Regions from separate parts of the Homo sapiens genome. Here regions 2, 3 and 4 are each linked to region 1. Evidence: promoter capture Hi-C in human tissues and cell types (Jung and others, 2019). All regions are on one chromosome and are shown on one strand. The core of a region is centred on a gene start or on the middle of the fragment in contact, and the rest is flanking DNA. Distances in the headings are between cores, read along the strand shown. Region 1 holds the start of FOXA1 (forkhead box A1). Region 2 overlaps TTC6 (tetratricopeptide repeat domain 6). Region 3 overlaps TTC6 (tetratricopeptide repeat domain 6). Region 4 overlaps TTC6 (tetratricopeptide repeat domain 6).

What was found. The method cuts DNA at HindIII sites, captures the fragments that hold promoters and counts their contacts. A contact is called where the count stands out against the background at its distance.
Region 2: a fragment that was not itself captured here is called in contact with the fragment with the promoter of FOXA1 in region 1 in 3 of the 25 tissues and cell types used here (H1 embryonic stem cells, dorsolateral prefrontal cortex and spleen).
Region 3: a contact is called between a fragment that was not itself captured here and the fragment with the promoter of FOXA1 in region 1, in 1 of the 25 tissues and cell types used here (dorsolateral prefrontal cortex).
Region 4: a contact is called between a fragment that was not itself captured here and the fragment with the promoter of FOXA1 in region 1, in 1 of the 25 tissues and cell types used here (dorsolateral prefrontal cortex).

What each region holds. Positions count from the first base shown.
Region 1 is chr14:37,593,808-37,596,563 of GRCh38, forward strand. FOXA1 (forkhead box A1) reads right to left here and starts at 1,442. Exons shown (of 2, transcript NM_004496.5): 1 at 1,094-1,442. The coding sequence starts at 1,165. TTC6 (tetratricopeptide repeat domain 6) reads left to right here and starts at 1,822. Exons shown (of 33, transcript NM_001310135.5): 1 at 1,822-2,201. RefSeq lists enhancers at 1,378-2,237, 1,751-2,756. The HindIII fragment of the contact is 7,361 bases long and covers 97-2,756 here.
Region 2 is chr14:37,828,613-37,831,368 of GRCh38, forward strand. All of the region lies in intron 31 of TTC6 (tetratricopeptide repeat domain 6), which reads left to right. Among named protein-coding and RNA genes, the nearest start is that of LINC00517, 72 kb to the right of the region's middle. The HindIII fragment of the contact is 4,635 bases long and covers 1-2,756 here.
Region 3 is chr14:37,807,274-37,810,029 of GRCh38, forward strand. TTC6 (tetratricopeptide repeat domain 6) reads left to right here. Exons shown (of 33, transcript NM_001310135.5): 25 at 47-187; 26 at 1,460-1,573. Among named protein-coding and RNA genes, the nearest start is that of LINC00517, 93 kb to the right of the region's middle. The HindIII fragment of the contact is 6,001 bases long and covers 1-2,756 here.
Region 4 is chr14:37,789,111-37,791,866 of GRCh38, forward strand. TTC6 (tetratricopeptide repeat domain 6) reads left to right here. Exons shown (of 33, transcript NM_001310135.5): 18 at 1,607-1,727. Among named protein-coding and RNA genes, the nearest start is that of LINC00517, 110 kb to the right of the region's middle. The HindIII fragment of the contact is 5,054 bases long and covers 1-2,756 here.

The sequences.
Region 1 (2,756 bases), core at 192-2,691:
AACATACAAAACCTAGGCATATTAAAAAGCACTCCTCTGGTAATTTAATAAGGAATAATGATGTCCTTAAGTTTATTTTAATCAGCAAGTATGACTCAATTTGAAAATATGAGAACAAATAGATTTAAATAGGAACACCCAGTAAACTATGGTATGCAAATAAACTCAGAGGTAAACTTGTGAATACATAAATCTAAATAAGTCAGTTACCATCAAAATATTACGTGATCCTATATTTTTCTGTCCACGTCTTAAAAGTATTTTTTACCTTGGGGCTTTATTTTCTTTCCCTCTTCCCAAGATTATCCAAGGCAGTTCCAATACGCGTTTTCAATAATGGTAATTAAACTTTTGGAGGGTAATCGCCAGCTGTTTCCAGAAAAATACTTTTAATAGGTGGTAGTCCTCCCTGTAACTGGTTTTCCCTGTAATCCTTTTGTGCACATTGTAAAAATAACCCCCATGAACGTGCCACCAAGGGGACAATGAAGAGAAACAGGTTCTCGGCCCAGAGTTGTGAAGAAGATTTTGGTCGCACTAGCGCCACCCAGCGGTTTTAGAGAAGGAGCACACTTCTCCCCAAATAGGGCTTTTGAAGAACAAGTTTTACAAAATTTAGAAATCGTTTCATTATTGAGACACCCAACTTGGCGGCAGAGCGCTTTAATCAGAAGACGTCTGCGAATTAAACGGTGGGACGAAGAGGTCGCCTTGTGGGTATGCTCCGGCTTTCTCAGAGTTGCTTCCAACTCGCACCGGCGCTCGCCCGCCCGCTGCACCCCGGGCCCGGCTCCTGCTCCCGCTCGCTGCTGGGAAGAGGCAAGCGCTTCCTAGAGCCGCTGTTTTCAAAGCCCGGAGTTTCCTAAAACTCCCTCTCCGGCTGCGAGAGTCGGGACAGAGCAGGGCAGCAGGTCCCGCTTCCAGGCCCGGCCAAGGCCCGGCCGGGGCCACACCGGCGGGCGGGCAGCGGTGGCACCGAGAAGGCGCCCCCGGCCCGCCTGCCTGCCTTGCCTGGCGCCCACCGCTCCCCGGCCTCCCCCGGCACGGGCTCCAGCGGCGCCCCACCGGCCGCCCGCCTCGCCTTGCCTCTCACCTCCTGCGTGTCTGCGTAGTAGCTGTTCCAGTCGCTGGTTTCATGCCCTTCCATCTTCACAGTTCCTAACATCCTGGAGCCACCCTGCCCAATACAACCATCCAGCCCTGTGCGAAGCGACGGGCGGCCGCGCGGCGCGGGGCGGGGGAGGGGAGCTGAGCAGCTGCAGTCACCCGAGCGCCCGCGCGGGCCCAACGCCACCCGGGCGAAGAGGAAGCCCAGAGCTGCGGGGCGCGGCGTGCGCGGCGGCGGCGGCGGCGCGGCGGGCGGGGGCAGCGCCGGGGGCAGGCGGCTGCCGCGGAGCGCGGCGCCGGGGAGCGCCTCCGCGGGAAGTGAGCGGGCTGCCTCTGCGAGGCAAGTGCAGTTGAGCTGATGTGGATCTTACGTCGCTTGAGTGCCCACCTCCTCGTCCTCTCCCCATTTGTCCGCCGCACAAAGACGCTCGCACCTACAAAGCCCGAGGTGCACCTGCAAGGCGGCCGCCCGCCAGTCCGGCCGCCGCGCCTCCCGCCCCGCCGCTTCACCGCTGCGCGCGACCCCTCCCCCGCGACCCCTCCCCCAAGCGGGGCCCTCACTTTGTTTGCAAAGCAGTGTAATTGGTTTAGGCCCGGAGGCTAGGGAAAGAGGGAAATGGGGAGGGAGGGGGTGTAACCCCCTTTGGAAAAAGAAAAAATAGGCGGGGCCAGGCGGGCGGGCGGGCTAGGGCTCTGGATCGGAACCTCGCAGCCGGAGAAGGCCGGGGGCGGTGGCGTCGGAGACTGGGCTTAGAGACCTTGTGGGATAACTGACCCCGGGGTCCCTCCCCAGAGGTACACGCCACCTTCCGAGCGCGGGCTGCGGCCCAGTCTCGCGCCCCTCCTGCTCTTTGCTTCCTCCCTCCTGATTCCTGACCCAAAGTTCAACCCCGGGAGACTGGAGAATACAGACTTTTTTTTTTCTTTCCTCCTGAGAGCTTCAGACTAGAAAAGGGAAAAAGCCCCACTTTTGCTTCGTCACTAGAAACCGGGTCATCTGAGTCAGCCGAGCCAAGTGACGTTAGGCCGACCCGGGCCCCGGGCTAGCAGAGCGGAGGCGCTGCCACGAAACTCGTACCTGCGGCTAAGAGCAGGTGAGTCACAGCACCGGTTTATATCTTTATGACATAACTTTTTTTTTTTGTTCCGCCTCGGTCCGCTCCTCTCCCCTTGTCATCTGTAGCGACCACAAAGAGGAAGAAACTGAGAGCAGATGTCTGTGTGATAGGGCAGGCGGACCCAAGTCGGGCCGTCCTCCCCCTGCCGGGCTCCTCCTCCCGCCCCCCTTCAGCCGCTTCAGGGAGTGAGCTGGAGACGACCGTCTGGTTTCTGATAGGAAAAGGTCAGGGGGAGGGGACATCTCCCATAACACGCGCGTTAGCTGGGAGAGCAAGGGCCTGGGCGCGGGAACGCATCTGCACTGCGAAAGAGATGCCAGGCAGAAGCCCGAGACTGCCCGCAGCGGCGCTTGGTCCTGTCTGTGACCCGGAGGGTCCGGGCTGAGATCTCAGGGGCTCGCTTGGTTCCTAATCGGTCCTGGACGTCGGTGGGAGAGTCTTCCCAACGCAAAGTCTCTTTACTCTCATGAGGCCCTGGGTGGTGGTTGCCCACTTGTCCTGGGAGAGAGAACAACTGAAGTGACCGGGTGA
Region 2 (2,756 bases), core at 96-2,595, 230 kb after region 1:
CCATTTGACTAAAGAATAAATTAACAGAGCATTTAACCAGATGGAAGGACATTTATATTTTCTACATTCTGGAATTTATTGAGTTTTAATGAAGTCTAATATAAAAACATTGTTTTGAATATGTCAGGGTCATTCCTAAGAAAGGGTATCTACTATCAGGATGTGGATTTAAGTCTACATTTAGGAAGTCTATGTTATTAATTAGTTTACATTCATACTTTTTTTTCACTTGGTTTATCTTGGACTGAGAGATTTATTCAAGTATCCTGTTATTTGAGGGTTCCTATATATTTCTCTTTGCATCTCTTGTAATGCCTGCTTTGTGAAAATTGCTGCTACATTATTTCATGTATAGATATTTATACCTAATATATATGCATTATGAATTATAGCCTTCAGCACTACAGATTTCCTCCTTTGTTTCTTTTAATACTCTGTGGAACAAATTCTCCTTTGTGTGATATGAGGATCATGACCTCTGAGACCTTCTGATTTGCTTTGCCTGGTATTCCTTTGCTTTTCCTTTTATTTTCAACTTTTAAAATCCTTTGTTTTTGGTATGTCTCTTTTATACTGTATAGAATCGGATTTTACTTTGAGAGCTAATTTGAAAATATTTTTCTTTTAATAGGCAAGTTAAGCCCATTTAATTTTGGCATGATCAATACATTTGATCTTAGTTCTGTTATTTTATGTAATGCAAGTGTGTTTATGTTAAAGGTATTTTGAAAGTATTTAACTCCCTGGTTTTTTATTTTTTGGCTTTTTTTCAGTTTTTGTAATATTTAGGAAGGTTTATAGTTTTGTTGTAGTGATTATCTTTATAAAAATAACATTAATACTCTTAGTTTAGTTTCTCTACTATGAACAACAATAAAATTACCCTGTAAACTCCTCCTCTCTCTCATTCATTATTCAATTTTAGTAATTTTTTAAAAAAAGTTTATCCTCATATTCTTAAATATGCTTGAGCTTATTATGTCAGCTTGTCACATAAACTTGGTTTCCACAGTCTCTTGGGTATAAAAATTGGTATGAATTAAGGTGAGTTAGATAATCACATCATAGGGATGGTCTTGAAGGAAGTCTAAGTAGGGGAAAGAACAGAGGATTCCAGGCTAGAAGCTGGTGACAATAGATATTGCAAGGCAAGTGCTGACACTTGGGGAAATCCAAAAGAATAGTTACTGTGGGTTCACTTGGGCAACACATAAATTAATTCTCCCATTTTGTTGTAAGTTTTATTATTTCTACACTGCCTGACCAAGATTTAATATTTATGTATTATTTTGTTACCCTTATTGCACATTTTAGTCTTAGTTCTTCAGTTAAATATATTCAGTTCTCATCACCAGACTATTTGCCAAACTCCCCTTCCCCACAATAATTTCTTGGTTGTCTGAAATTAGTCCTCTGGTAGAGTTCTAAGGAGGGGCTCCTGAGAACAATATTCCTTGGAGTTTTGCATGTTGATAGCTGTTTGCCTGTAGCCTATTTTATACCTTAAGACAGCATGGCTCCTTGACTCATTTTTCTTTCCTTGAGTGTCTTGTAAGTGCTGCTTTCTTTTCTGGTGGTATATGTTGGTGTCAAGAAGCATGATGCAAAACGGATTTTCTTTTTCTTAAAAGCAACTTGCTCTTTTTTGTCAAGATAACCACATTTTTTTTTAAGGGAAAAGTTTTACCAAGGTATTCCTTAGAGTTGACCACTGCAGGTTAAATTTATCAAGTACACAGTATATGTTTTCAGTACATAGATTTCAGATAAGTGTTGTTGAATTCAGTTAACATTTTTTTTTCTGTTTCATTGTTCTGATTTTCTTCACTGGGGATACCAATTATATAGATGTTGTATATTCCTTAATTTTGATTTATTCTTAATTTTTTTATTTCTTAATGTCTGTTTCATTTTCTTTGTCTTTCTTTTGTATTTTTCCTAAATCTTTATACTGTTTCCTGAGATACCTGTTATCCCTGTGGACCTCATAAGTTAGATTTCCTTTTTATTTTATTTTTCTAGTTCTATCCTATTTCCATGCCATTTTTTCCTGGTCACCTCTTTTCTGGGTTCCTGTATTTCTGATTCATTTTTTCTTGATGGCAATTGCTTCCTTAAAAATTTTTTTCTAAAATAGATTTTTTTAAATGAATTTTTTTCAAAATCATTTTATTTCAAAATGTTATATTTTTTATTGATACATACTAATTGTACATATTTATGGGGCACATGATATTTTGATATGTGCATACAATGTGTAATGATGAAATCAAAGTAATTGGAATATGCATCACCTCAAACATTTATCGTTTCTTTATGATGAGAATATTTCAAATCGTCTAGCCATTTTGAAATATACAATAAGTTATAACTATAGTCACTCTGCTGTGCTATCAAATACTAGAACTTATTTCTTCCATATAACTGTATTTTTGTTCCCATTAGCCAACCTGTCTTCATCCCCTCGCCCACCCCTCCCAGCCAATTGTAACCATCATTCTACTCTCTCTGTTTATGAGACAAAGTTGTTTTTTTTAAGCCTCCAAATATGAGCAAGAACATGTGTTGTCTTTCTGTACCTGGCTTATTTCACTTAACATAATGTCCTCTATGCTCACCCATGTTGCTGCAAATAATAGGATTTTATTCTTTTTAATGACACAATAGTATTCCATTGCATATATGCAACACATTTTCTTTATCTATTCACCTGCTGATGGACACTTAGGGTGATTCCATATCTTGGCTATTGTGAA
Region 3 (2,756 bases), core at 151-2,650, 210 kb after region 1:
TTTACTAAAGCATCCATTCCTGCTTTCTCTCTCTCTCTCTGAATAGGCATATTTAAGCCGAGTAGCATTCTATGGTTTAAAAGGCAGGTATTCCAAAGCAATCTTGAATTGTAACAAGGCTATTAAAATTTACCCTGAAAGCGTACGTGCCTATCTCTACAGAGGAGTTCTGAAATACTACAACAAGGTAGGGCCATTTCCTGCCTGGTTTACCGAAATTTTAGGGTGGGCAGATTCTCTTATGCTAGGCAGGGGACTCACTTACTTTTTTTCTATGTGGTTGGGAATCACTATGATATGAAGGGCAGAACTACATAGAAAACTTTACACTTTCCCAATTCATATTTTTTTCACAAAATAATGGTATTTATTTTTGACATTTACATTTTAAATAACATTTATTATTTATTTTTATTAAGAATGTAGCATATATTCATTGTAGACAGTTTGGAAAAATATGGAAGGGAATAAAGGATTATTATCTCACCATCAATGATAATTCCTGGGTGCATTTAGCATATTTGTATTCAGTCTTTTATTTTCCTCATAATATATGATATATATTTTCCAAAATTTGGACTATGGTATTTATATAACTTGTGTGGTGCCCTGCTTTTTACACTTAATCTTTGAAGATAATATTTTGCTGACTGCATAATATTCCATGACAATTTATTTTAAATTACTTTATTGTTGAACTTTTTGATTGTTTTTAAAATTTTTACTATTATACTATTTAATATAGTTATATACAACTGAGAACAAAATTGCTGCTTGGGTTTATGATTGGTTCTTAAACAGAAGTTACTGGGTTAAAAGGTGTGACTGGCACCATTGATATGTGATACTGCACTGAATACTTTATTTCTCTCTACTTTTCTTTTCTGATCTTTCTTTGTAGCTATTTTATATGAAATATTTTGCAAATAATACCTTAAAGCAAAGGTAAGACCTTGCATTATGTGTTAATTCTATGAAAATTACTATCTACAGAAATGGGTGATATAAGGTATCAGAGAAGAATCAAAGAGGAAGCAAAAGAGAACGTGGGTAGAAAACATGACGATTATGTGATATGGTAGTCAGAGTGACAGAAGCAAGCAAGCACTGGTGAATGTTTGCTGCATTAATATGGGTGGCTTTATTTTATTTTACCTAGAAGTATGATTTTCTCCTTGCCATATACCAACATTGGTAATAAGATATTTGCCTAAATTAAAGTTGTTGATATATTTAATTTTGTTTGCAGGTAAGAGAAACTATAATGATAATTTCTACCAGGAGATTTTCTTAATTAACTCTGTGAAAGATTAGCTTCAATGTCTTAATTTCACAGATGATACAAAGAATGGTTAAATGAGTGTTTCAAAAACTCTGATAGAAACAAGAATTTATTTTATGATTAAATTTCAGTCCATTATGATTTTCCTTTCTCACATAATTACTTTTTTCTTTTTAGACTTATAAGCTAGCAATTACAGATTTAACTACAGCTATCAGCATGGACAAAAATAGTTATACAGCATTTTATAACAGAGCATTATGTTACACCAAGATAAGGGAACTTCAAATGGTAAGATGACCATTTTAGTAAACAATGTGTTTAAAGTGTTTAATAAATAACATGCATTTAATAGCTTGTGGATTTCAATCAATAAATATTTAATAAACAATATGTTAAAGCATTTGTAAACTCATTTAAGGCATTTATAAAGTATTTTCTTATTACTTCTGCTACAATTTTCAAAAGGAATTCCTAGGAAATACACACATATAAAACTTAAGAAACCAAAGAACCATTTCAAAGAATATTTAATTTCTTTGTTGGTGCTCACCAAATTTTCTTATATAATTTCTGAAAGAAGTCAAATGAAAAATTAAGTTGATAATGCTTATAGAAGTATTTAAAGGCATTTATAAATTAAATACATTACATAATTATCAATTGAATAAATGTTTCTACCATATGCAGAATTTTTTTTTTTTTTTTTTTTTTTGAGACGGAGACTCACTCTGTTGCCCAGGCTGGAGCGCAGTGGCGTGATCTTGGCTCACTGCAACCTCCGCCTCCCGGGTTCACGCCATTCTCCCGCCTCAGCCTCCTAAGTAGCTGGGACTACAGGCACCCCCAATCATGCCCTGCTAATTTTTTGTATTTTTAGTAGAGACAGGGTTTCACCATGTTAGCCAGAATGGTCTCAATCTCCTGACCTCGTGATCCGCCTGCCTCGGCCTCCCAAAGTGCAGAATTTTTAAAGCAGTAGCAATCACTAGCAATATTGTGGTTTCAAAATTTTAATATTAGCTAGAGCAGTTTGTGTAGGCATTCTTTTGTTTGGTCCTCAGACCACACATGTAGCAGGGAGGATGGAGTGATGGTTTTCAGCTCCAGGGACCAGTGACCAGGTTTGGCCTATATTTTGAAGGCCTGTGGGCTGCAGCAAACCTTTTTTTCCATTTGTCTTGATCCAGCATCTACCTGTGCAAACTCTTGTTTATATTTTGTAATCTTACCTACTCTCTTCTCTCCTGTCGGTTTGGTCCCTTTTCAATGAGGATTCCTCACTGGGGAGCAGCTAGTCTTGCGGTCTTTCAGTGTAGTGTCCCATCCTCTTTCTCTGTTACTTGTCTCACTCTCCTTATTCCTGCCCATGTCCATAGTAAATGACGCATTCTTTTAAAAGGCTAGGTCACATTCCCGCTGTTCTGTGTTCACACACTCTCCATTCTGTGAAACGTGGACAGTGAAATCTGTT
Region 4 (2,756 bases), core at 129-2,628, 200 kb after region 1:
AAAGGACTCTCAAGATATTTTGCTAAGCTAATAATAATAATAATGATATCTAACATTTATTGGGCATTTTGCTACTTGCAAAGTGCTGTTTAAAGTGCCAAATAAGAAGTGTCTCAATATTCAGAGTAATGCTAGGAGCTCGGTACTATTTTCATTCACATTTTACTGATGAGAAAGCCATAGCACAGAGAGGTTAAATAATATTTTTTTTCCTTTTTCCTTAAGAAGAGTTTTTTTATTGTTTGTTAAGAGCAGCCACCCAAACTGCAGCTGATTTTTTAATTGCTAGCCAATCATACTGTGAACTGAGCAGTTAGATTTTCTTCAAGTGATAACAGTCATGCGCCACATAATGATGTTTCGGTCAAAAACGGACTGTATATACTATGGTTAAACCTGATATATGGCACTTGACATTCGCATTGTGGATCAAGTAGGGGAAACGATTGATATTCATTAATGGTGTTGGGACATTTGGTTTCCTCTTATATATATATATATATATATTGTATATACTCTATGTATATTCTATAATATATTCTATATTCTGTATATATGTATATATATAAAAATATATACCATCTAGGTTTGTGAAAGTACACTCTATGATCTTTGCACAATAAAGAAATCCCCTAATAATGCATTTCTCAGAACATATCCCTACTGTTAAGTGGTGCATGACTGTACTTCCTTAATGTGTATGATCATTGCTGACACTGGCTATAGTTCCCTAAATCCAGTACCGTGAATATTTTTGTCCTAGACTGCAAACATTATGCATATTTTGACAAAACTTTGCACCTTAAGGCAGAATGTCATGAGAAGCTTTAAAGATATCTGTCAAAACTTGTGGAAACCCCATCTAATTCACTAACATGTTTTGAAAGTGAAGGGGCAATCAGTAGGCGAGAGACATGAGATGACCTCTAGACAGGTTACTGATGAGAGTCACACACCTGGATTACTGAGAGGAGGTTCTTTTTCTCCCTTCCATTATTAGGGATGTGCATCTCGCATCTCGGATAGCTGTCATTTGGGATGTGCATAGTCAAGCCGTCCGCCTTACCTCCAAGCTCTGTTTGCCTTGGTGTAGCCTCTTTGCTTGTCCATCCCGGTTTGTGTGTGAGCCTGACCTCTGCTTTCTGCCTTCAGGACTAGTACTCAAGCCTGTTCCTTGGCCAGTAACGATGGCTTCCTGATAAAATCAGGCCATCAAGGGTCATGGCACCCTTCTGACTGGAGTTGGATTCTAGGCCAGTCTTTGCCATTGACTGGTATATCATGACCATGGTCAATGTACTTACCCCCTTTGGACTTTAATCTCCTCACCTATACGGTGAGTGGACTATGCTAGATTCCAATCAGGATTTAATTCAGCTCTAATGAGTTTGTGAACCACAATTGCCACATTGTTACTAATAAATACATTTTAATGTACAATACTATTATTTAACTTACCAAACAAGTACACTCATCATAGATATGTTTCTATTTTATATAATGTTAAAAAATGAGAATAAGCAATAGGAAGTTTACAGACTAAAGTATAATTTACCTATGGTTATTTTAGAACCTGAATGAAATACATTTTTTTAAACTTTTTAAGCACTCATAAATGATGGCTATGAGAATCTTGGTTGTTTTCTACATCGGGGAATAGTCTATGCACATCTAAAACTTTGGCTGCTGGCAATTTGTGACTTTGAAACTGTCATTTCTCTAGAAAGGTATGTTTTCCTTTTCATATTTATTGATTTCAGTTTTGTAAAAAATCGAAAACCTGAAATGGGAGAAAAAGTTTCTTTCCCCTCATCATTGATAACCTAGAAAAAATGAGACACTTATAAAGTCATCCTAGAATTAGAATACTACTTCTAAAAACAAGATTACTTCAAAAATAAAACCTGTTCTCAACATCTGTTTGCCTTGGGTGTTTTTGCAAATTTTAGAAGTTAAATGGGTTTGACAGGAGTTAAATCTATGGATAAGGAATCAATACTATTGAGGATTTTGGAGATGCCCAGGCTAGAGCTTTTTGAAATTAACTTCATGGAAAACTGTCATTAAGTTTTAAAATAATGAAAAAACATTCTGCTTGGTGTATGATTGCTATGGACAGGATACAACTCAATGGAAGGCAGCCTTCTATTTAGAACTTCTGGCTTCATTTTGTTTAGTAAAGCAAAATAAAAACACTAATACCATGTAGACCATATGTTCAGGGAGAAATATAGACTGAAAGTTAAATGCACTAGTCAGAAAGTCAAACTGTAAATCACAGAATTTAATTAAAAATTCCCCTTTTTTTCCAAAGAAGGATTTATGAAAAGGGAAGGTGTCAGAAAGAGTAACTAATCATGCCAATTCCTTGCCAACCAGCAGACTGTTTACTTAATCTATCCAAGGTAAACTTTGAACTTGACACAGGAAATTCATGGAGCATGGCTCCCATAATGACCACAGTGGTTTTCTTTTGGACATTTTTGAGCCAGAAAGAAAAAGAAAAGAGTGTCAGTTTCAAAGAGACAGAAAACAGGAAGTAGGAACTTTGGTGTCTAGGCAAGGGGTCAGGGATTCTGTGAGGTTGGATTATTGGATGGGTGGTTTTCATTTTGAAATAGAGGCATCAAACATGATAATTTCTAAGGTTATTTCTCTACTGAAAATCAGTTGATTTTAAGAGAGATAAATAACATTTATTTGATACAGAAAAGCTGTGTTAATATGTACGTGGAGAGGATTTTAACCCCAAGCCA